5 separate regions of the Homo sapiens genome follow, and regions 2, 3, 4 and 5 are each linked to region 1. Evidence: promoter capture Hi-C in human tissues and cell types (Jung and others, 2019). All regions are on one chromosome and are shown on one strand. The core of a region is centred on a gene start or on the middle of the fragment in contact, and the rest is flanking DNA. Distances in the headings are between cores, read along the strand shown.

Region 1 (2,700 bases), core at 183-2,682:
TTCTGACCCTTCCCAAATTGCTCCTGGGAATAACACTATTGTAAAGCCTAACATCAGTGCTTGAGATACTTTGCAGAGCCTGCAAAATGGATCAGCTGGCACCACCCAGATCGGCAAACTGGCTCATCTGATCTTGTGGCCCCGACCCAGGAACTGAGGCAGTACAAGACAGCTTCCACTCCCTGTGATTTCATCTCTGACCCAACCAATCAGCACTTCCGACTTACTGGCTGTCTCCCCACGCACCAAATTGTCCTTAAAAACTCTGATCCCCGAATGCTATGGGATACTGATTTGAGTAATAATAAAACTCTGGTCTCCTGCACAGCCAGCTCTGCGTGAATTACTCTTTATTGTAATTCCCCAGTGTTGATCAATCGGCTCTGTCCAGGCAGCGGGCAAAGTGAACCCTTTGGGAGCTTACAGCAAGTGACCCAATCACAGCTCACTGCAGCATCAAACTCAAGTGGTCCTCCCGCCTCAGCCTCCCAAATAGCCAGAATTACAGGCGCAAGCCACAGAGGTCAGCAAGGGGAAATTTTTAGGAGCACAGACATTGGGCACAGAAAACGACTACGTACCTTCAGAATGAGGCAGGAAAGTCTTAAAAGTCAAAGTCTTAGAAATGTCTTACAGCCTTAAAAATCAATTAAGTCTTAGACCTGGGGGGGTCAAATCTCAAATACGACAGCAGCCAGAAATTTATTACATCAGAGGTTGGGAATCACTTGGGAAACTTCAAAGGCAGATCAATGGCCAGTTCCCAGCCCCAAACTCTTTAGAATTTCTAGGAGTAGGTCTCCAGCGTGAGTATGGTTTTACCTCTCCTAAAGTGATTCTAATGTGCAGCCAGGGTTGAGAACCACTGCCATTCTAAACCAATGAGGGCAAGATGGCCAAACAGAAGTGTCATTTCCTATTTAGTCTCCTTGATTGTTGCAATGGAATTCCTCAGCTTCAAAAGTCCAGAATTTCATGTGAGATTTCCAAATTCTAAAATGTTGGCAAGTAATTAAAAGAAATTTTTTTAAAAAAGATTGGGATCAAAGAAAACATGGATTCGGGCCCTACTGAGTGTCACTTCGTAACCTTTTTGCAGTTCAACCTCAGGTTTGAACAACCTGATTCTGAGAAGTTAAATAATTTGTCCACGGTTACACAGCCAGTAGGAATAAGAGTTAGGACTAAAACCCAGTCCCTCTGAATTTAATTAATGTTCCTTCCATGAGAAGGAAGGAACACCTGAAGATGCGTTTTAAAAATGGGTAACAGAAACGCGAAGTTACCGCCAGCCATGATCGCAACCACGCATGCGCCTACTACTGCCGGCGAGGCGGAAGAGCAGGGAAGGTTAAAGGCGATGAATTACGACCTCTGCTGGCGACGCTCACGACTCCTGCCGTAAAGGCCGTGTGTGGCGCCTGCGCACCTCCTTTCCCTTTCGGATTCCCGACGCTGTGGTTGCTGTAAGGGGTCCTCCCTGCGCCACACGGCCGTCGCCATGGTGAAGCTGAGCAAAGAGGCCAAGCAGAGACTACAGCAGCTCTTCAAGGGGAGCCAGTTTGCCATTCGCTGGGGCTTTATCCCTCTTGTGATTTACCTGGGTCAGTGGGAGAAGAACCGGGAAAGTGACTGGAGGGAAGAGGGTGGCGGAGACAGCAGCCCCATTTTTGGCCGTCGGGGGAGGGAGAGAAAAATAGGGGACACTGCCGTGCACGGCCCCTGAGGCTGTCTGGTCAAGTGGGGCCGATCTAACCTGAGTTCGAGTTCCCGTTCTATCGCTTTATAGTTGCATGGTCTTTAAGCAGTCTTGCAATCCCTCCTTTTCTATTTTTGCATCCTTAAAGTGGAGGTCATATTTCTCGGGATTGTAGGGAGGGTTGGATGACCCCAGTGGATGTGAAAGTCACTAATTCACTCTCTAGCACTAGGTGGTTCTCGGGGTGTTTTTCCTCACCGCTCCATGTGGTCCTAAGTGGAAAGAGTCCTGTTCAGGGAATCGAGACACCTCGTGAAAGTACCACTGCCATGAAAGCATGATTATAATAATAGTCGTTGGATGCCTCTGCTTTCTTACCTGTACGATGAAGGGTTTGGATGATTTCTATTACTGCCCCCATTTTACAGGTGAGGAAACAGCCGTAGAGAAACTTTTTTGCCAAGGTCGCACAGCTATGCTGACTGAGGGAGTTAGGGGCTCAGGCAGTGGGGCATCAGAGCCCATAGTCTTAACCATTATAGCGCACTTAAAGGATTTGGGGTTTTTTTGGTTTTTGTTTTTAAGACAGAGTCTCGCTCTGTCACCCAGACTGGAGTGCAGTGGCGCTATCCCGGCTCATTGCAACCTTCCCCTCCTGTGCTCTAGCGATCCTTCCACCTCAGTCTCCCAAGTAGCTGGGACTACAGGCTGGTGCCAACAGGCTCGGTCACTTACTGCAAGGATTTGTTAATATTTTTCAGTTAGGGTTGCAGACTGGGACCTATTCTGTAGTTTTTTCTTTTCTTTTCTGTCTTTTTTTTTCCTTTTTTCCTTTTTGAGACAGTCGCTGTGTGCCCAGGCTGGAGTGTAGTGGCGCGATCTCTGCCCACCGCAATCTCTGCCTCTCGGGATCAAGCGATCCTTCCCCCTTAGCCTCCCGAGTAGCTGTGATTACAGACTTGCAGCCACCGCTCGCGGCTAATGTTTATATTTTTAGTAGA
Region 2 (2,700 bases), core at 136-2,635, 150 kb before region 1:
GGATGTACAGTTTAACTACCGGTGTTGATGAATAATAATGGATTATCATGGTTTAAGGTTTTAACTTAAAATTCCTTTCTATTCAGGTCTTTTTCAAAAAAATGTTTTAGACTATTTAAATTTAGTTTGTAAATTTGTGTGTAAGAAAGTATGTATTTTAATATATTTTCTTTCACTTCTATAGGAAATAGTTGACAAACAGGGACATACCAAAGTATTGAGTTTTACGATTCCATCTTTATCCAAACCATCTGTATACCATGAAGTAAGTGACATTTTATCACAGTAAGTTTATTGACCCTAAGCTTTGATATTGCCACAAGTTATAATCTAGTTATTTAGGAAAAAAATTGATCAATTTATTAGTACCTGCAAAAGTATAAACACCCACAAAGTATTTACTATTTCCAAATTGAGATAAGAAATCAAAATAAATGAACATCAAACTAAAATGTGCTAATAAGAGATCTATTGAAAGTATTCTTTTTGAAATATTTTTCCCTCTTCCTGATGGATGGCTACTTGTGTGTGTTGGCCGGCGGGCAGGGGGGTGGTGGGTGGGCAATTGTGTATTTCCATGGTAGAATTTGTGAAATTAAACTAATTTTTATTTCTCATTTGTGGTTTGTTTTAAAATTAGTTATTAAATCTTCGAGCAGAAAATTTGGTAGGCAGCCTAAATATGTTTAAGATATATGATGTTCGTGGTAGCTATTTTAGTGGTATATATATATTCTATATATCACCTTTTCAGCAGAATAGCTTTTTTTTTCTTTATTCAAATGTCTTTTCTCTAGCCTTCCAGCATTGGGTCCATGGCTCTGACTGAGAGTGCACTATCCCAGCATGGTTTGTCAAAAGTGGTATACAGTGGACCTCATCCTCAAAGGGAGATGCTGACAGCACAGAATCGGTATACTGTGGGGATAAAAATTCTTATCTTAATCCACTAATTTTTTAAGAAAATTATTTCAGTAGACTTATAAATAATGTTTAATGAGTTGTGTGTGACAATTTATTTGAATACTGAGTCATTTTATACAAGAGAAAAACAGATCTAGATTTGTCACTGTGCTTTGCTTCAGGTGTCAGCTGGAACACTGAATTTTAAAGACAGGTTTCATATGGCTGTTACTTGGAAAGTCTTTTTTTCCTTGTAGTTTTTCATTATTGGTGTGCTTATACTGTGCAGGTCTGTTCTGTAACATTGTATCTCTCCCCAAGGAGTGCTCTCTCCCCTATTATAGTTGACTTCTTAGAATTCTAAAGATTTGTTAATATTCTTTTTGTTTGTCTTTAGGTTTGAAGTGTTGACATTCCTTTTGTTGTGTTACAATGCTGCCTTAACTTACATGCCCAGTGTTTCTCTTCAGTCACTGTGTCAAATTTGTTCAAGGTAAAGTAAAATTCAAGTGCTTCTAATATTGAAATATATGAATCTATGATTGCTAGTCTGGTACATACCTAAGTTATTTTTGTTTTGTGTAATCATTTGTTTAAAACATTAAATAAGTTAATGTAAAGCTCAGCCTACCCAACACATGGAAAGTTCCCTATAATTGATAGTCACAAAAAACATGATAAAGGGCCGGATGCGATAGCTCATGTCTGTAATTTCAGCACTTTGAGAACCTGAGGTGGGAGTATTGCGTGAACCCAGGAGTTCAAAACCAGCCTGGGCAACATAGCAAGACCCCTGTCTCTATAACAAATTTTAAAAAATCAGCTGGGCATGGTGGTGCACGCCTGTAGTCCCAGCTACCTGGGAGGCTGAGGTGGGAGGATCACTTGAGCCCGGGAGGTTGAGGCTACAGTGAGCTATGATTGCACCACTGCACTCCAGTCTGGGCGATAGAGCAGGACCCTGTCTCAAAAACAAAGAACACAAACAAAAACAACAAAAACAAGAACATCATGAAGAATGTAAAGCTGAATAACGTTTAAATTGACTATTTAATCAGAAAAGGATTATAGTATATAGCTAAATGATAGAGCTGTTATGACCTTTCAAGTTTTGGCATGTGGTTGGCTTCTTTTTGTTTGCATTTATTTATTTATTTTTACTGTGCTCTAATTTGGAACTAAGAAATAAGTAAGAGATACTGGTTCTTAAACTTTTCTTGTTAAAAATAAATTGAGCCAAGGGGTTATAAAATAAATTATATCCTTGAGTATAGTATATTCACATTTTAAAAATCCTGATTTAAAAGAGTAGTTAATGATAGTATGTATGGTATGATTTCCTGATTGGTTGAATATGACCAGAATATTAACAATGATTATCTCTAGTTGGTGGAATTGTGGTTTATTTTAATTTTCTCCTTTGTGATTTTTTTTGTGATTTTCTAAATTTTTGGTAATGTGAATGTTACTTTTTTTAAAAAGGAGAAACAAAACAAACAAAAATGACAGATTATTCCCCTCGATAATTCAAGTAAATAAGAGATATTATAGAACTAAGGAACATGTGGAATAATTTCTATTTGAGGAATTTATTTAGAAAATGCAACTTATCCTGAGTGTATTAGTCCATTTTCATACTGCTATGAAGAAATACCCGAGACTGGGTAATTTATAAAGGAAAAGATGTTTAGTGGACTCACAGTTCCACATGGCTGGGGAGCCTCACAATCATGGTGGAAAGTAAAGGAGGAACAAAGGCACGTCTTACATGGCAGCAGGCAAGAAAGCATATGCAGG
Region 3 (2,700 bases), core at 99-2,598, 180 kb after region 1:
GGAAGCTCTTTTTTAAGCCACAACTCAGAGATCCCTTCTACTTCCATTTCATAGCTATGTCACTGGGAAATTATGACTTTCAGGGTTGCTAAAGGAGAGAAGAAAAAAATATAGGGAATCCATATCCATTCTTACATTCTTCAGACTTGAAGTACACATATCACTGCTATTCACAGCACATCGACCAAAACTGTTGAATGGCCCCGACCAACTGTGGGAGGGGCTAGGAAATGTGAGAAGTGTGTTGGCAGCCAGTGAGCCATAAATGTCTCTGATACAGTGAGTATCCACCATATTTTATCTACATACTGTCCAAGTGGTGGACATACAACCCCCAGCTGACACAAACAATGCTGCAGTGAGTATCTTTGGCCTAGAATCTCATGAACCTAAGTGAGAATCTTTTTGGAAAGTTGTAGTAGGTTAAATGGTTCTCAGAAAGATAGGTTCACATCCCAACCCCTAGAACCTGTGAATGTGACCTTACTGGGAGAAAGCATCTTTGAAAATGTAATTAAGGATCTTGAAAAGAGATCACCCTGGGTTATCCAGGTAGGTCCCAAATCTAATGACAAATGTCCTTCTAAGAGACAGAAGAGAAAACGAAAAAAGAAGGCAGAGGCAGAAAGTGGAGTGGTGCAGTCATAGTCAAGGAGCACCTTGAGCTGCCAGAAGCCAGAAGAGATAAGGAATAATTCTCCCATAGGGCCTTCAGAGGGAATGCAAATTTTATTTCAGATTTCTGGCCTCCAGAACTGTGAGAGAATGAATTTCTATTTTTTAAGACACCAATTTTGTGGCACTTTATTAAGGTAGCCCTAGGAAATGAATACATAGTTTGGTGACTAGAAATGAGGTGCTACTGTAACAAATACCTAAAACTGTGGAAGTGACTGTGGAATTAGGTAATGTGCAATTACCCAAAGCTGGAAGAATTTTGAGGCAGAGGATAGAAAACTTCTGGATTCTGGTAAGGGCTCAGAAGGAAGTAGGGTACATGGTAGACAAAGCTTCTATTGTCTAAGAGAATACAAATATTGCTGTAAACAGAATGTTGCTAGAAGGAAATGAAGAATGTGTTACTGAAAGCTGAAGGAAAGGTCATCTTTTATATACGGGCAGAAAAGTTGGCTGAATCATGTTTTCTTTGTTGTATGGAAAGCCTAATTTGTAAGCAATAGCTTGAATATTTCTGAGTAGAAATAAAAGCAGACTTCCGAGAAAAGTATTAAAGATGCAGGCTGGTTTTTCCTTGCTGCCTATAGTCAAATAAATACAAGCAAAAAGATAAGATAAGAAAGGAACTGTTAGATAAAAATGAACAAGCACTTTTATTTTGGAAGTTATCAGTCTACCCAGATTGCAAAGGATGCTAAAGTTAGGAAATTCTGTTAGGAAGCGTGTTCTAGAGAGAAGATCAAGGATGTGGCTGGACAACCTTTTGCTGAAGAGATAAAGCATGACTCATGGATACACTCAACCACCTCACCAGAAGCCAAAAATAGAAATGAGTTACTCATGGGAAATCTGTGGAGAACCCTTTTGTCTAATGGCATGAATCCCTGGACCCCCACAGGAGAACCACAAGGGTTTTGAGAATGTTGTATCTGCAGACTGCCAGCTTGAACTTTTAAAAGGATAGAAGCAGGATGAAATGTGAGAACACTATCAGACTTCCAAACTTCTACAGACAGAAAGTGGGCCAGTAGAGCTAGTCAGCTGTAAATATTTGCTACCATTTAAGAAAATGAAAGAATGATCCTGAGGCCACTGTAGGTCCAAAGGATAGACCACTGTGGACTCAGAGGATAGGGCTACCACAAACCCAAAAGGCAGAACGGCCATGGGCCCCAAGGGTGTGTTGAGTGACAGAGGATTATTCTCAAGGCTTGAGACCTAATGAAATTTGCCCTGCTCAGTTTTGACTCCTTTGGGATTGGTGACCTCTTTATTCCTTCCATTTAATATTTTTTGGAATGGAAATGTCTATCCTATGCCTAGCCCACCTTTGTATTTTAGATACTTGTATTTAGATAACTTGTTTCCTAGTTTCATAGGTCCAGAGATGGAGAGGAATTTTGCCCAGGATAGACCATACAGATTTCAGCAACACCTGATTTAGATGATGCAATTTGTAACTTTTTGAGTTGGTGATGTTTAGATTAGATTTGGAACTTAAAGTTGATGCTGGAATGGGTTAAAACTTTTGGAAATGTTGGCCTGGGGCCATGCTGCTGCTGTGCCCTGCCTTCTGTGGCCCAAGCCACCACTGCACTTCATCCTCTCACCAGAGCCCATGCCACTGGGGAACACCCCAGAGTTTTCTGGGGCCCATCTCTGCTGCTGCTCTGAATACTCATACCCCAGAACCCAGTGCTGCTGCAACTGCCTGCAGGCCATACCAGACCTGGCACCAAGAAGGATCCCCTCGGTTAGGACTTCTTTCCCTAGAGGAAAAAGAGCTAACAGGGAGATCCCAGAAGTCTTTGCCGCCAAGGATCCCAACAGCCTTTGCTGCTGCTGCCATAACTTCAGATATCTGTAGCCTTGGCTGTCTAGGACTCCTAGAGTTGTCCCCAGTGCTGACCTCAATGATAGAGCTGCATGAAGAGTACACCACAGCACACTCTCTGAAACCAGAGCTGCTGTACCCCACCCAACTGGCGTTCCCACACCTTCCTGGAGGTGAAAGTATTTCCC
Region 4 (2,700 bases), core at 153-2,652, 140 kb before region 1:
TCCGCAACCTCCGCCTCCTGGGTTCAAGCGATTTTCCTGCCTCGGCCTCCCGAGTAGCTGGGATTACAGGCACGTGCCACCATGCCCAGCTAATTTTTTGTATTTTTAGTAGAGACAGGATTTATTCATGTTGGTCAGGCTGATCTCAAACTCCCGACCTCAGGTGATCAGGCCCCCTCGGCCTCCCAAAGTGCTGGGATTACAGGCGTGAGCCACTGCACCTGGCCAAAATAAAAATTTTTATTAGACTGACTTCCTAGACACCTAACTGTCTTTTTAACTTATGAGAATTGTTCTCCTTAACATACTTTAGCTGCATTTATTAATTAACATTAGGCATTTGGAAATCTAATTGAATATTTTGAAATTTTTAACTTTATCATTTACATATTTTTTTAACCATGAATTTCCCTCTTAGCCTCCTATTCTTATCTTAGAGGATTTCTGTATCATCTTATAAAATGCTTGGGAAGAGCCTCTTTGTATAAGCCTGTTTAGCATCATGTTTTATCGAAGGGTTAGATAATATATCTGCTCTATCTGCTCATGTTGATCTTAAACTATATTTTTTCTCCTTAGGTTGCTAATGCAATAAAGGCTTCATTGCCTCATGGTCCCATGAAATCTAATAAGGAAGGTACAAGGTGTATTCAAGTTGAAATCACACCAACTTCCTCTCGAATATCAAGAAATGCAGTAACCAGCATGTCAATAAGGGGTCATAGGTGGAAAAGACATGGTAAGAAATACGTAACTCTTCAAGTCAAACCATTGTTGATTCTTTTACATTTTTCACTGTACTTATGGTGCTATAACTTCTAACTTCAGTAAATAGTAATCTGGAAGAAAGAGCTGTGGAGTTGCCCTTAACTCCTAATTTATTATCTAGGAGCAATAGGCAGTAAGAAAAATGGAGCCCCTTATGTTACACATATGAATGAAAATGTATTTAAAAATCATATTCAATTTGAAATTGTTACTTCAGTAGGAGAATAAGGAAAATGCATTTTAAAATTACTCATACATTTTGGGCTTGTATTCAAAAGTATTTGCAAATGTTCCTTAATTAATATTTCTGATTTCTCAGTGAACTCTTAAGCAAGTGAATTTACATATTGAAGTAGAACAACTAATAGGGACTTTAAACACTTTGTCTGCACTTTCTGGTAAAGAATGCCATAGTGTTGACGCAACACTAGTTGTATTTTCTTGAAGTTAATTTTCTTTCAAGATTCTGTGTATGTGTGTGTGTATATATATATCCCTTCTTGTCTGCTTCATTTTATTATTTTAAAATTTTATTGGAAGTCATTTTCATTCACTATGGCTTTTTCAGTGCTTTCCCATTTCCCTCCCTTGTCTTTTAATTTATTGTTCTTTATTTAATTTCATATTATTTTTATAACTTCCCTCCTACCTAGAAGTTATTGTAGTGTCAACAACCAGTCTAAGAAGGAAATTATCACCTTCCTCAGAAGGTAACCATGGTGGGAAGCAAAAAGCTACTTCTTTACCCTAAGCAAACGTGTATATTAGAGGTAAAACAAAATCCATTCTCTATTTTCTTCTTCCTGTAAACTGAGGTGAAAATAATAGTTCCTTTTGGTATATTTGGTACTGGTTGTGTTGTGGTTTCTATAGAGAAAATGGGAAAGGAGAAGAATGGAGCTATTTATGGTAAACTAGAAAGTTGGTGATGAGAACAGTTGCCATTGTTTTCACTTAAGGAATCTAGGTGATTGTATGTCAGAAAACAATAATGATTATCCAGCTTACCTAGTGATCATTTTTGGTGTTTTTAAAGTGTAGCAATTCTTGAAAGTTCCATAGGAAAGTATAAAAGAGGCGGTGATGTTTGCCAATAGCAAGGCAAATTATACCACCATTTAAAACATATAGTCTAAACATACTTCAGCTTCTTCAGTGAAAATTATGCTACTGAATGGGGCTAGATTACAGGTAGAAAGTAATTTAATTAGATATGGTTTACCCTGAGGTTGGTTTTTCTGTTTTGGCATTAATGTGTGAGAACAGGCACGGAGGCAATGAAGCAGATCATAGTGGTTACTGTGGCCATAATTGCTTCTAAGCTACTGCTACAGGAAGCACAAGAATGAATTTTAATTTCTTTTCCACTTTCCTTCTTGCTATTTAGGTAGACATATTGGGAATTTGGGAGAGAAATGTAGGTCCTGCAGTTAAAAATGTGAAATATTGATGCTCCCTTGTATTTGTGCATATGTGTGTATATGAGAGAGAGTATGTGTGCATGTCCAGGCGTACATTTAAACAAGGAGGTCTGTACCCTGCAACAAAATGGAAGCCATTTCCCAGACATATTTTATAGGAAAAAAATTACAAAACAAGAGAAAAGACTGCTTGAATGTATTGTTTCTAGCAGATTCTTACATATCTTCCAGATTGTATTTTGGCTGCCACTTGAGGGGTTAGCACTCTGTCTTAGGATTGTACCCTCATTAAAGTAGCATTCTTATCACCTGTACCCCTTCACAATTCTAACACTTGGGAAACTCTGTTTATTATAACAATAAAGTCACAGATGAGAATATAGAAGTGAATGAACTATAAAAAGTAAGTCACATGCATGGAACAGGTACAGAATACAGCTTAGCCTTGTTTATCACTCTTCTTTAGTGTGAATTCCCTTTATCCAGTGGACTCTAAAATACTCTTAAGTCC
Region 5 (2,700 bases), core at 112-2,611, 250 kb after region 1:
CTGTGAAGTGTGAGAGGGAAACTTGAGCTTTTTACTTTGCAGTAACAACCTTGGAATGGAAAGCTATTTCGGTAGCCAAGTGTGGAAAGTGAACATTAACCAAATAAAACCATGGGGTCATAAAGCTAGGAATGTGCAGGAATTCATGAGTCTGGTTTTCCTCAGCATATTTGCTCTTTCCGAAGAAATTTTCCTCTATTGCTCCATGAAATATGAGTGTGTGTTTACATTTTAAAATAAACCACATTATATCATGAGGTCCTGTTATTCCTAATCCACAGCTCAATCCATGTATGTAATCCAATAACTATAATAACTTTAACATTTCTTTAAAAGTAAACACAGGACCTTTTCCTCTGTGTTTGCCCAATCTTCTTTATGGGACACTAAAATTGAGAACCGAATATCTTCTTTAGCCTTTGACTGACACATGAGGCCTTCTCTGGAGGTAAGCTGGGGTTATAAAACCTTCCATGAGTGAGAGGCCGAATCCATCAGTCATCTCAGAAAACCTCACGGCCAGTTCTACTCCATATGAAATCTGTCTGGGCATCAATCTACTGATGGATGCAATGAAGATGTGGCTCAACACTATTCTTACTGTGATTCAGTGGAGTTTCGTACTCGGCATTGGATGGCTGCATAACATCCAGGAGAGACATAAACATAAGAAGAAAACTTAGGAATGGAATCATTATCAAGAAAAAACAAACCACAAAGGAAAGGTGAGTGTGTACTGGAAAAGTTCAGCCTGACAGATACTGCCCTAGATTCAGTGATTTGCCAGGAGGCAGAAAGAAATGTATCCTTTCCTATCAAGTGTTAAAAGCACAATATCATTTTGTCATTGTTGCAAAAACACAATGACACTCAGCAAGAAACCCCTTTTCTGAAGCTCCTGGGATTTTCCCTGGACCCTGTCAGCAGCCCTGGAGGAAACAATGCCAGATATTATAGGCCATGCTTTACAAATTCTCACTTGAAGCTTGGAGATCACTATTAGTTTTTCTTCAAATACATCTAGAAAAAGTAGGTTTCTTTCAAGCAAAGGAAGTAGGGAAATTCACACCAAATCAAAGACTCAGGGTTGAGTTTTCTGGGGCATGACCCTTCTGTCTTTTTTTTTTTTTTTTTTTTTTTTGATGGAGTCTTGCTCTGTCTCCCAGGCTGCAGTGCAGTGGCACGATCTTGGCTCACTGCAACCTCCATCTCCTTGGTTCAAGCGATTCTCCTGCCTCAGCTTCCCGAGTAGCTGGGATTACAGGCACTTGCCACCATGCCTGGCTAATTTTTTGTATCTTCAGTAGAGATGGGGTTTCACCATGTTGGCCAGGCTGGTCTCAAACTTTGGACCTCAGGTGATCCACCTGCCTTGGCCTCCCAAAGTGCCGGGATTACAGGTGTGAGCCACTGCACCCGGCCAACCTTCTGTCTTGACAGGAATAGGTTAAGGTAGCTTTGGGGGTAGGAGTGAGAGGTGTCCTTGTGATCTCTCAACAGTCCCCAACCTTTCCCCTCATAGTACCTGAGTGTTTTCCCTTCTCTTTGTGACACTCCACTGAAGGACCACCAATGAAGACTACTACTAAAGATGCAAATATCCCTGGAAAAGGAGATGGAGTGACAGGAACACTGATCCTACACCAGGGCTGAGCACAGAGGATAGAGACAAAGCAGGACCCAGGAAATGTGTATTGCAAGTTTGAAGGTTGAGCCTTTATAGAACAGTGATCTTGCTGGAACACTCAGGTGAGGAATGAGAGTAGATAGCGAGGCTGAGAAGGACAGCTGAGATGGGGTGGGGAGGGGGTGGGGAATGTCGTCAGGGGAATCAAAGATCTGAGTGAGATAGGACAAGCACAGGGAAAAGCAGCAGGCATTCAAGGAGAGGACCTTTATAGGTTGCAAAAGGTGCCCAAGGTTGTTGGAAAGGGAGCTTACAAAGGTGAATGTGGTGAATCTCTACCTGCAGGAGGAGATGAAGGGGTGCTTCTCTGTTCCCAGGGTCTGAGATTAGGCTGGAACCACTGGCCAGAAACTTAGTTTCATGGCAGGCTTCTTCAGCCTTTCTGGCATCTGCGGACTAATCACACCAAACTCGGTCACCCTGTTCATTAGGTAGTATGTCATATCCTGCAAACCACTAGATTATAAACCCAATTTGTGGTCTGCTTTCGGGGTGAGACTGTCGCTATCTCAGGTCAGATTTTTAAGGGTCAGTCTTATGGCTGCACCTAGAGCTTTGTCAGAGTCAAGCCCTCTGGGTTAGTTTAGGGAGCCACAGTTTGGTACCCAGAGTTGGGCTTGAAACAGTTGAGCAACAAGTCACTTTTCTTTATCTTCCTGTGCATTTTCAGCAGTCATCATGATTCATATGACATAGTTCCTCGAAAGACCAAGAAAAAGTCACACAATACTTCCTATTTCCTATGGTGCAGGGATACATATTTTCTTTCTTTTTGAAAAACGCTGTCGCTGTGTCGACCAAGCTGGAATGCAGTGGTGCAATTACAGCTCACTTCAGCCTTGACCTCCTGGGCTCAAGGGATCCTCCCACCTCAGCCTCCTGAGTAGCTGGGACTACAGACACATTGCCACCACACTTGACTAATTTATTTACTGTAGAGATGAGGCGGGAGAGGGGTCTCACTATGTTGCCCAGGCTGGTCTCGAACTCCTTGGCTCAAGCAATCTGCCTGT

Evidence for each region. The method cuts DNA at HindIII sites, captures the fragments that hold promoters and counts their contacts. A contact is called where the count stands out against the background at its distance.
Region 2: a fragment that was not itself captured here is called in contact with the fragment with the promoter of TOMM7 in region 1 in 3 of the 25 tissues and cell types used here (IMR-90 fibroblasts, lymphoblastoid cells and small bowel).
Region 3: a contact is called between a fragment that was not itself captured here and the fragment with the promoter of TOMM7 in region 1, in 1 of the 25 tissues and cell types used here (neural progenitor cells).
Region 4: a contact is called between a fragment that was not itself captured here and the fragment with the promoter of TOMM7 in region 1, in 1 of the 25 tissues and cell types used here (hippocampus).
Region 5: a contact is called between a fragment that was not itself captured here and the fragment with the promoter of TOMM7 in region 1, in 2 of the 25 tissues and cell types used here (IMR-90 fibroblasts and heart left ventricle).

What each region holds. Positions count from the first base shown.
Region 1 is chr7:22,821,581-22,824,280 of GRCh38, reverse strand. It overlaps TOMM7 (translocase of outer mitochondrial membrane 7), which reads left to right and starts at 1,432. Exons shown (of 3, transcript NM_019059.5): 1 at 1,432-1,604. The coding sequence starts at 1,502. LOC112267993 (a long non-coding RNA gene) reads right to left here and starts at 1,324. Exons shown (of 3, transcript XR_002956543.2): 1 at 582-1,324. RefSeq lists enhancers at 1,202-1,411, 1,442-1,521, 1,191-1,951. The HindIII fragment of the contact is 34,135 bases long and covers 1-2,700 here.
Region 2 is chr7:22,974,906-22,977,605 of GRCh38, reverse strand. HYCC1 (hyccin PI4KA lipid kinase complex subunit 1) reads left to right here. Exons shown (of 11, transcript NM_032581.4): 5 at 185-265; 6 at 798-913; 7 at 1,301-1,396. Among named protein-coding and RNA genes, the nearest start is that of HYCC1, 38 kb to the left of the region's middle. The HindIII fragment of the contact is 6,927 bases long and covers 1-2,700 here.
Region 3 is chr7:22,646,406-22,649,105 of GRCh38, reverse strand. No RefSeq gene overlaps it. Among named protein-coding and RNA genes, the nearest start is that of IL6, 79 kb to the left of the region's middle. The HindIII fragment of the contact is 7,254 bases long and covers 1-2,700 here.
Region 4 is chr7:22,958,295-22,960,994 of GRCh38, reverse strand. It overlaps HYCC1 (hyccin PI4KA lipid kinase complex subunit 1), which reads left to right. Exons shown (of 11, transcript NM_032581.4): 10 at 580-739. Among named protein-coding and RNA genes, the nearest start is that of HYCC1, 54 kb to the left of the region's middle. The HindIII fragment of the contact is 9,797 bases long and covers 1-2,700 here.
Region 5 is chr7:22,575,029-22,577,728 of GRCh38, reverse strand. No RefSeq gene overlaps it. Among named protein-coding and RNA genes, the nearest start is that of STEAP1B-AS1, 13 kb to the right of the region's middle. The HindIII fragment of the contact is 5,052 bases long and covers 1-2,700 here.